Linked DNA regions of Homo sapiens: region 1 is linked to region 2. The links are contacts of gene promoters, found by promoter capture Hi-C in blood cells and fetal thymus (Javierre and others, 2016). All regions are on one chromosome and are shown on one strand. The core of a region is centred on a gene start or on the middle of the fragment in contact, and the rest is flanking DNA. Distances in the headings are between cores, read along the strand shown.

Region 1 (4,918 bases), core at 2-2,501, 280 kb before region 2:
TGATTAACATTAGACCCCCTTCCTGATAGCAAGGATGATGAATAGGTGGATAGGGAGGAGACGGAGAGCACAGAGCAGGCTAGAGTCCCTACATATAATGGAAACCTCATGCAAAGATCATACTAGTAAATAGGCCTAACATGTCACATGAGGCTTTTTCTGTCTTGTACCCATTGAAAATTTAATTCACTATCTATATGAATTGTGATGAGAACAAACAGTGTAATAATAGAATTTTATAGTACGTGATGAAGATATATGCTACACTATTTGGGGCTTTTCAATCTTTTTCCTCAGTAAAACAATCCTCATCTTACTGTAATTTCCTCTAAAGCTAATTCAAGAGCCTTTCCATGAGCTGCCACTAACCAGTATTATATTTAGTATAGATCTTTAATGACCCCATCACAAGTGTCCACTGAAAGTAGCTGGCCATCTTTCTTGAAAAATGAAACGTTAGCCGGGCACAGTGGCTCACAGCTATAGTCCCAGCTACTCAGAAGGCTGAGGCAGGAGGATTGCTGGAAGCCAGGAGGTCAAGACCAGCCTAAACAACATAGTGAGACCTTGTCTCTATAAGTAAATTTAAAAAAAAATTAACTCTGGGCTTTAGTGTAGTAAGTGTTGATGGGCTACATTTACAAAGGAATGACAAACTACTGGAAAATGCACCATCAGTGAACACTTAACAAGCACCTACCTACCATGCGACACACACATGCAAGAGGAACCACAAAGCATGAAGCCCAGGAGCCATACCTTCTTCAGGCCCGTGGACTCGTCCTCAATGTCATCCGGCAGCAGGATGACCATGCTGAGCTCCTCGCCTTGGTAAGGCAGTTCCAGCACACGGCACTTAAGGTCCTCGATGTAGCCATATGCAAATTTTTTCTTCTGATACATCATTTTCACAGTTTTTCTGTCTTTCTGAACAGTTTTAAAAAATCACTGAAATTATTCTCTGCATTCTTTTAGAGCAATGCATGACTCTGTACAGTTACCTCACCTCACCTTATTCAATCTGAATGGTGCATTCGTCGTGGCTTCTTTCATGAATTTATCCTTCCAGTTTCCCTTGAAATAGATGGCATTTACTAGCACAAGTTTGGTCATGTTATCAACCATGCCCGAAGCCAACAGTTCCGGAATTTTTCCTAAAAAAAAATCAAGTTAGCGTAAAAAAAATCCAAATCGGAATTCCAAATTTGAACTGACAATATATTAGCACGGAAATGCAATTCAAATATATAATTTCTACTTAATTTTCATTTAACAAGATATTAACTTAGGAAAGCCCTACTCACTAACATGTCTCTACTTTAAGTATAACAACCTGTGGGGCAGACAGACCAGGATGACACACAAACTTCCCACAAGGACCTGACATTTTAAACAAGTCAAATGTGCCGAAAGACAAAAGACAGGAAAATTCTCCTTTTCTGGACTGTATGATAAACAATGAGCCTTATTTTGTAACAACCATTCTTTTTTAGAAAAAAAAAATTCTTAATGAAGATATCTTTAGTCATCAGTAAATCACTTCTTCAAATCGCTGAGTAGATGCCTACTCTCACAAAAAAAGGTTTAAACAATATCCAAAAGGCAGAACAAGACCAAGCATGGTGGCGCACACCTGCAGTCCCAGTGCTTTGGGAGGTGGAGATGAGAAGATTCCTTGAGCCCAGGAGGTCAAGGCTGCAGTGAGCCACGATCGCACCACTGCACTCAAGCCTGGGCGACAGAGCAAGACTCTGTCTCTTAAAAACAAAAAACAAACAAACAAACAAAAAAACCAGCAGAACATACTCCATGGAAATAAAGGTCACCTTCGTGACCATAAGTATGGCTGGGAACAATTCCCATAATGGAAGACAGGTCTTCTGGAGTGGGTTGACTAATACAGGGCTATGTAAGAAGAGAGATGTAGCAAAGAAATAAATTGCACCCTAAAAGCAAGTCAGTCCCCACCTACCACAACTTTTTTACTGGACAAGATGTTGGCAAAAAATTTACAACCACAGTAGTTTGTGAATATTGATTTCAGGTATTTCCATGAAATTCCAGGACATTTCTTTCCATATGAGTATTAGGTAATTTTTGGCAGGCTGAATTCTCCTCAAAATTTTAATTCCTTTTTTGCTGTATTCAGTGTTGGTTTTAACTTTATTTTTTATTTTTTATTATTTTTATTATTTTTTTTACGACGGAGTCTCGCTCTGTTGCCTAGGCTGGAGTACAGTGGCATGATCTCGGCTCACTGTAACCTTTACCTCCTGTGTTCGAGAGATTCTCCTGCCTCAGCCTCCAGAGTAGCTGGGATTACAGGTGTGTGCTACCACACCTGGCTAAATTTTTTGTATTTTTAGTAGAGACAGGGTTTCATCATGTTGGCCAAGCTGGTCTTGAACTCCTGACCTCAAATGATCCGCCCGCCTTGGGCTCCCAAAGTGCTGGGATTACAGGCATGAGCCACCGCGCCTGCCAATGTTGGTTTTAACTTTGAAATGCAACTTTAAAAGTTTTGGGGAGCTGATGAGAAAAAAGGATTTAGCTGCTTGAGTTAAATCATGTTTAAGTTTCCACTCTGGTGAACTTCGAACATGTGAGAGCTGTCCAGCAACGTGCAGTGCAGACTTCACGCACCGGCAGCGTCCTCTGACTGTAACCACGATGTGCGCCAGGACTGTGGGAGCTGGGGAGGGAATAACTGCAGGTAGGGAAGGCGGACTGAGGAAACGAATGACATGACCAGCGCATAATGATTCCATTCTGCCCAGGCTCTCACCTTCTGTCTGTCCTTTGACCCACTGGTTTATGGTCTTCCTTGCATCTTCAGAGGCATGCTGAAAATCCACACTGGCCAGGTCAGCACCATATGTTTTCTGAGTCGAAACCAAGAACTCCTATTAAAAAAAAGGAAAAGGAAATATATATATAACTCCTACTACATATAGAAATTGTTTTCTAAAATCCCAAAAAGCAACAGAAATTGTCCTAAAAGGCTACAATTCCATGTAACACAAAATTTCTAACTCTTATAGTTTTTCTTATAGTAGTAAAAATCATTTAACATTAAATTTACGATCTTAGCCACTTTTAACTGTGCATTCCAGTAGTGGTAAGCCTAACCCTTATACTGTTGTTGTTATATAGAAATTACCACTCTTTTCTGAACTTTGACTAAGATTTCACAAACACTGATTGTACTCTTGCTTCAGTAAAACCTCCAAGAGCTATCTTTTCACTAAAAAGACTGTAACACAAAATCACCATGTCAATTAAAGTTTGCATTCTGTCGTGTTTGCCTTCCATATTGTTTTTGCCATGTTTGCCTTCTGTATTGTTTTTCTGAAAGTTTACAAATATTAAAACTGACCTCCATGACTTGATTGTGCTGGAAAATATCTGCACTGTCTAGTGGGGTTTTAGAATGTGAAGGGCAAAGTACTTACAGGAAGGAAATTGTAAGTTTTCTCTCCATATAATCTATTAGCAAGTTTCAGAATATAAGACGCTCCACGTTTGTTGATATCAGCATTCAGACTCTGGAATCTTGAATGAACCTCTTCAACCGTGTTGAAATGGAAAGTCTAAAATAAAGAAAATCTTCTTTCTACAACCATTTATTTTGAAACTATAAAGTGATTCCTTGGTGTTTCCTTCTATCACATTAAATTAATGTGTTTTTATTACTAATTATTGATGATCCCAAACCCAATACTTTATTAATTTGTCATTGCAGAACAAACAATAGGAAATCCAAAATTTATGGCTTCGTGAGACAGAATGTTTACAACTTTACACATTGCTTTTACATCACTCTTTGTTACACTTGCAGTTCCACAAATGTGGGTGGTTAAGATACTAAATATTTATATATAAGTCTGCCTTTTCCAAAGAAAATAATAAATGGTATGTTCATATTTATATTCTGTATCAAATATAATTTTACTGAAAGTTCTCAGAAATAAGCAGTAAAAATAGGATTCATCCTCTATTCAGAACCACAAAGATAGTACAGACTGAAGCTTTTAAAATTTTATTACCCTATTAACATCAGTAACTCACTTATTTTAAAATAACTTCCTTAAACTTAACATTCTGGCAAAAGTTTAATTCCCCATGTATCAGTTACAAATCAAGAGGCCCTTTGTGGTTTTATGAGACCTAGGCTGGTTCCTTTATGATTAAGACACAAAGAACAAAATTGCATAGGGTACGAAGTCCACATTACTCACCGAGATATGGAATGTTTGCACTGTGCCTATGCTCCATCTGCTTTAATGGAAATGGGGGAGGAGTCCTTAAAACTATTCTTTGCTGAGGTTTTAAAGTCCCTGGAAAACCTCAAGCTAGGAACTGATATAACCCTGCAAGAAGCAACTAACAATTAGTAACAGAGGTTTTTTTTTTTTAATGGATTTAAAAAAAACATTTAAAATGCTTTCATATCTAAAGTGATGAGTAATAGAAGTTTCGCAGCCCCTTGAACTTGAATCCCAGGCTGCACCTTGCCAAGGAACAGGTGCAGTGTAATTTGCGGCAGGTATGTTAGAAGAGCCTCCACTTTTACCACTCCTTTCTGCTGAGCTTAGAGAGAGAGAGCTAGAGTTCTCTTCTCAGAATTAAAGAGTACCAAGCACAGAAGTCCTCTCCATGTCCATTATGGACAAGAAGGAAGGCTGGGCATGAGAGTGACCTGTCACATCGCCAAGGGCTGGGTCCCGCCCCTGAAGCTGCGGGTCTCCCCCTCACCTCCCCTGCAGGGCGTGCTATGCCACAGCCCACTGAGCCATGCGCAGCACCCTGGGACTACAGAACCACAGGGTCACTTTTTCTCTTTTCCTTGCAAAAAAGCAATGCCACTATCTCCACTATAATGCATTCCCTATGTCTTATTCCTCTCATTATGCTTGAA
Region 2 (4,800 bases), core at 1,230-3,729:
GAGAGCTCAAAACTCCCCCCTGCCCCTTCTCAGCTGTGTTACCCAGGCCTTGCTTCCTAACCTTTCGCCGTCATTATGCAAGTATAGAGTCCTGAAATTGAGCAGCTCAAAATTACTTTTCAGCTGTGTTACCTAGGGCTTGCTTCCTAACCTTTCTTAGCCTCAGTTGCCTCATCTATAAATGGAGAGTGCAATAGCACAGAAGGCTAATGTGAAGATTAAAGAAATATGATATATCATAAGGTGCCTGGCACAAAAATGGCAGTTTTTTTAAACTGTACGATCTTGCTATATATAAAGAACTGGTTGTCAGGTATGTTACTTAAAAATAGTGACACCACGCTGGACGCGGTGGCACACACCTGTAATCCTAGCACTTTAGGAGGCTGAGGCGGGTGGATCACCTGAGGTCAGGAGTTTGAGACCAGCCTGGCCAACATGGCAAAACCTCGTCTCTACTAAAATTACAAAAATTAGCCGGGCATGGTGGCGGGTGCTTGTAATCTCAGCTACTCAGGAGGCTGAGGCAGGAGAATTGCTTGAACCTGCGAGGCAGAGGTTACAGTGAGCTGAGATTGCGCCATTGCACTCCAGCCTGGGCAACAAGACCAAAACTCCGTCTCAAAAAAAAAAAATTGTGACACCAATAACCTAAAACTCAGTGCTACCGTTTTTTATTAGCACAAGGGTAACTGGTGTTGAAACTGTACAGACAGCTATTTTTATCATTTCTGAGATGAAACCCCAATCAACATATCAGGAAAAAAGGAAATACTGACCTCACCAAAGATTTCTGAAAGTCAAACGATATTAAACTCAAACATTATATATGTCTCTTTCCTTTTATGCAGGAATTAATGTGATAGATTTATGTTGAGAGTAGAATATGAAAACTTTTGCATAGTCTGTATTTAGGCCAAAACTGCCTTTACTACTCAAGAAAGTCCAATGGGCCAGTGAGGACACTGCAGGTGACAGAAATTTCTATGAGTGTAACACCTACAAGCACTGTGCTCACAGGACTGACTGTTACACCAAAAAGGTCTCTTGGAGGAGAAGAAATGCAATATGCAAAGAAGCTGTTGTCTCCAATTATTCAAGCCAAGGCTACAACAGTAGCCACAAATCTGCCAGTTATTTCCAATTAAGGCAGAACGATTGACTTAAAAAGCAATAGTTGTTTTTTTTCTCCACTGAGCTTTCAATTAGATAATGTCTATAACCTTTATAAAGCTGCAATTATACAGCCAAAAGAAAAAAAATTAATTGTGGTAAAACATACATAAAACTTACCACTTAAACCACTTTTAGGTGTGTAGTTCAGTGGCAGTAAGTACACTCACAATGTAATGCAGGCATCACCAAAATCCATCCCCAGGACTTTTTCATCTCTCCAAACTGAAACTCTGTCCCCATGAAACACCAACTTTCCATTCCCCCTTCCACCAGCCCTCAACAACCCCCATTCTATTTTCTGTCCCTATAAGTTTGACTCCTCTAGGTACCTTATTATATAAGTGGAATCACACAGTATTTGTCTTTTTTTGACTGGCTTACCTCCCTCAGCATAGTGTCCTCCAGGTTCATCCATGTAGTAGCAAGTGTCAGAATTTCGTTCTTTGTTCAGGCTAAAAAATGTTCCCTTGCATGCACAGACAACATTTTGCTTATCCATGTATCTGTTTTTGGACACTTAAATTGCCTCCACCCTTTTGGCTATTGTGAATAGTGCCGCTGTCAACGTGAGTGTAAAAACATTTCTTCTTGTACACCCTGTTTTAAATTCTTTTGGGTTATATACCCAGAAAAGAAAATGCTGGATCATATAACTGATTTGTTGAGGAACCGCAGTATTGTTCATCACATGGCTGCACCATTTTACATTCCCAACAGCAATATACAAGGGCTTCAATTTCTCTACATCTTCACCAACACTAATTTCTGGGGGTTTTGCTAGTAGCCATCCTAATGGGCGTGAAGTGGTATAAACAAAATTTAGATCCCATCATCTCCGAAAAGCAAATACACTTCCTAGTACTAGTCAGTACTAAATAGGTGCACAGCGTTTAGAACTTTACTTGATCCAACATAGCAGCCTGCCTAGAGCCGGAGCCCCGCCCACTCCGGAGTCCCGCCTGGACGCCGACGCAGCGAGGGCGCTATGGCTGGCGGCCTCGCCTCCTGGAAAGGCCATGGTCGCTGAGGCGACGAGCGAGGGCGGGGCAGCGCCGACGGGGACACTCATCCCGGGAGCCAGAGCCAGCACCGAGAGGGGACGGTCTACGCGGGTGCCGGCGGTTCCAGGACTGCGAAACCACGAGCCGAGTTTCGGTCGCCCATGGGAAAGCACCCGGCAGGGCGTGGCTTCGGGGCGGGGCGGGCAGAGGGCGGAGCAGGATGGAGAGGCGAGGTGGGCGGAGCAGAGGGCGTGGCTTCGGGGCAGAGTGGGCCGGGTACCGCGCTTGGTCTTAGCGCATGCGCACTCCCGGCAGCTACGCGACCTGTGACCATGGTGGCTGTGCTGGGCGGCCGGGGCGTGTTGCGCCTGCGGCTGCTTCTCTCAGCGCTGAAGCCCGGGATCCACGTCCCACGGGCCGGACCCGCGGCCGCGTTCGGGTAATGGCGGCCACCTCGCCCCGGGGATCCCCAGCATCGGCGCGCTCGAGGGGCGGCGGGAGGGGCGCGTGCCGACAGCAGGAGTTCCCGGCGCGCGGGCACGGGGCGTGGGCGCGGCCTGGCTGCCCTGTCGCCCTTTGTGCCGCGAGACCCCGATCCTGGGGGCCAGCCGCGCTTGGTGCTCGAGCCCCTCGATCGTGCATGCGCCTCGGTCAGCCTCAGTTCAAGGAGTCTGGAGCCGTGGAGGCTTGGGCTATAGAGTGCAGCCCCTTCAGTGTGCAGACCAGAGAGACCCAGGGAGATACATTTGCCTGTAGTATGGACTCACCCGTGACGGAGCACGGACTAGAATCCCAACGCCCTCATTAGTCCATTGCTCTGTCCAGAGTCCACACTAAGGGCATAAGGACAATAATCTCTTCTTTCTCTTATGTCAGAAATCAGCCTGAGCCTGAGTACCGCTAAGGCTTTAATCACGGGTCCCGAGAGCCCTAAGTCTTCTCTTTGCTTGCTGATCTCGTACCTTAATGTGCAAAAGAATCACGTTGGGAACTGAAAATTCAGAATCCTGGGCCTCACTCCCAGAGGATCTGATCTACATGTGTGGAGATGCCCAGGAATCTGCTTTATTCTCTTTTGTCCTCCCACCTGTCCCCCCATTTCAGGTAAAACAATAACAAAAAAACTGGATTAATTTCTGACCTTCTGTCTTGAAAATGGATACTCTTGGTCCCAAGAGATACTGGGCAGAAATGTGGATAGAGCGGCATGAAGCTTGTTTTACTTTATTCTCTACATACATCCCTACACACATGCAAACACACGTATACAACGAACGTACACAGTGCATGTGCGCAGTTGACTGTTGATGGGCTACTTTCATAAAGTCAGTACTAGATAGGTACACAGCGTTTAGAACTGTACTTGATCCAACATAGAAACTTTTAGTTTGAAAACTTGATTTAGAAGGAGAAAAGAGGGCAAATCTGACCAGCTTTTAAAATTTCATATTGCAATTGACTAGCTCCTTTAATTTTAGAATTATTATAAGATGGTCAGGGCTATTTTGATAGATGGAAAAACATGTTAATGGCTACAGCTGTATAAATTAACAGTGAAAATGATTATTTTTTCCAGTTTCCTGTCTGCAGAAAGGCATCGAAATAAGTTACTGTGATTGTACCAATATAGTTCTTTTTTTTTTTGAGACTGACTCTCGCTCTTTTGCCCATGCTGGAGTGCAGTGTTGTGATCTCGCTCACTGCAACCTCTGCCTCCCAGGTTTAAGCGATTCTCGTGGCCTCAGCCTCCCGAGTAGCTGGGATTACAGGTACCTGCCACCATGCCCGGCTAATTTTTGTGTTTTTAGTAGAGATGGGGTTTCACCATGTTGGCCAAGCTGATCTCGAACTCTTGACCTCAAATGATCCACCTGCCTCAGCCTCCCAAAGTGCTGGGATTACAGGCGTGAGCCACCGCTCTCGGCCTACCAGTATAGTTCTGATAGGTTATTTAATGGTTGAGGAAGGCCCCATCCATCTAGTTGCATTGCAGATCATTCTTCCTAAAATATCTCTGAAGAAACAGGTTTTTCTGGATTTTGTACGGCCGTTTTATAAATGCAGCTGCAAGTTGATATGACATATAATCTGGGAAAACAAGCAGTGGTATTAGTTAATCCTGAAATGCAGCTGTAGCTCAGTGTCAGTAGGTAAAAGGATTCGTGTAAAAACTTTGCTTCAGAATAGCCAGTGCCCAACCTACAACTGACTTTTGTTCCAAAAACTTGTTTGTAAGTCTGCTGTTTGGAACTTTGACCCTTATTTCAAAATCCGTAAGGTGATTTATTCCTGGGTCAGGTCAAGAAAAGCCTTTTCTACCTGAAATTGGATATTATGTGCAGTTATAAATATTAATAATTCACATAACCTAACAATCTTCCTAAAAAATATTTTCCAAGTTCAACCTTGGGATGCCCTGCCAGAGAATCAGAGACTGTCCTTCTGCTGACGCTTGCCACCACGCTGTATCTGGCAGTCAGAGTGTGGCCCCGGTGCCTGAGCCCTCTTAGGACTCTGTTCAGCCATGAGGTTAGAGAGGAATCATGGCCTCTGGAGTTCTAATGGCCCCGTGGCCACTTCCTAGCTCTGTGAGTGTGGGCAGATTGTTCAACCTCTCTGAGCC

What was found. Contacts are between HindIII fragments. The CHiCAGO score rates a contact against its expected background, and 5 or more counts as called.
Region 1: a fragment that was not itself captured here is called in contact with the fragment with the promoter of BPHL in region 2 in 1 of 17 cell types (neutrophils); the score reaches 5.8 in neutrophils.

The regions. Positions count from the first base shown.
Region 1 is chr6:2,835,097-2,840,014 of GRCh38, forward strand. SERPINB1 (serpin family B member 1) reads right to left here. Exons shown (of 7, transcript NM_030666.4): 3 at 3,453-3,590; 4 at 2,786-2,903; 5 at 1,012-1,154; 6 at 760-927. Among named protein-coding and RNA genes, the nearest start is that of SERPINB1, 4.3 kb to the right of the region's middle. The HindIII fragment of the contact is 5,549 bases long and covers 1-4,026 here.
Region 2 is chr6:3,116,232-3,121,031 of GRCh38, forward strand. BPHL (biphenyl hydrolase like) reads left to right here and starts at 2,480. Exons shown (of 7, transcript NM_004332.4): 1 at 2,480-2,616. The coding sequence starts at 2,510. It overlaps LOC107986556 (a long non-coding RNA gene), which reads right to left and starts at 2,416. Exons shown (of 4, transcript XR_001743928.3): 1 at 1,558-2,416. RefSeq lists an enhancer at 1,714-2,349 and a silencer at 2,388-2,777. The HindIII fragment of the contact is 8,418 bases long and covers 1-3,388 here.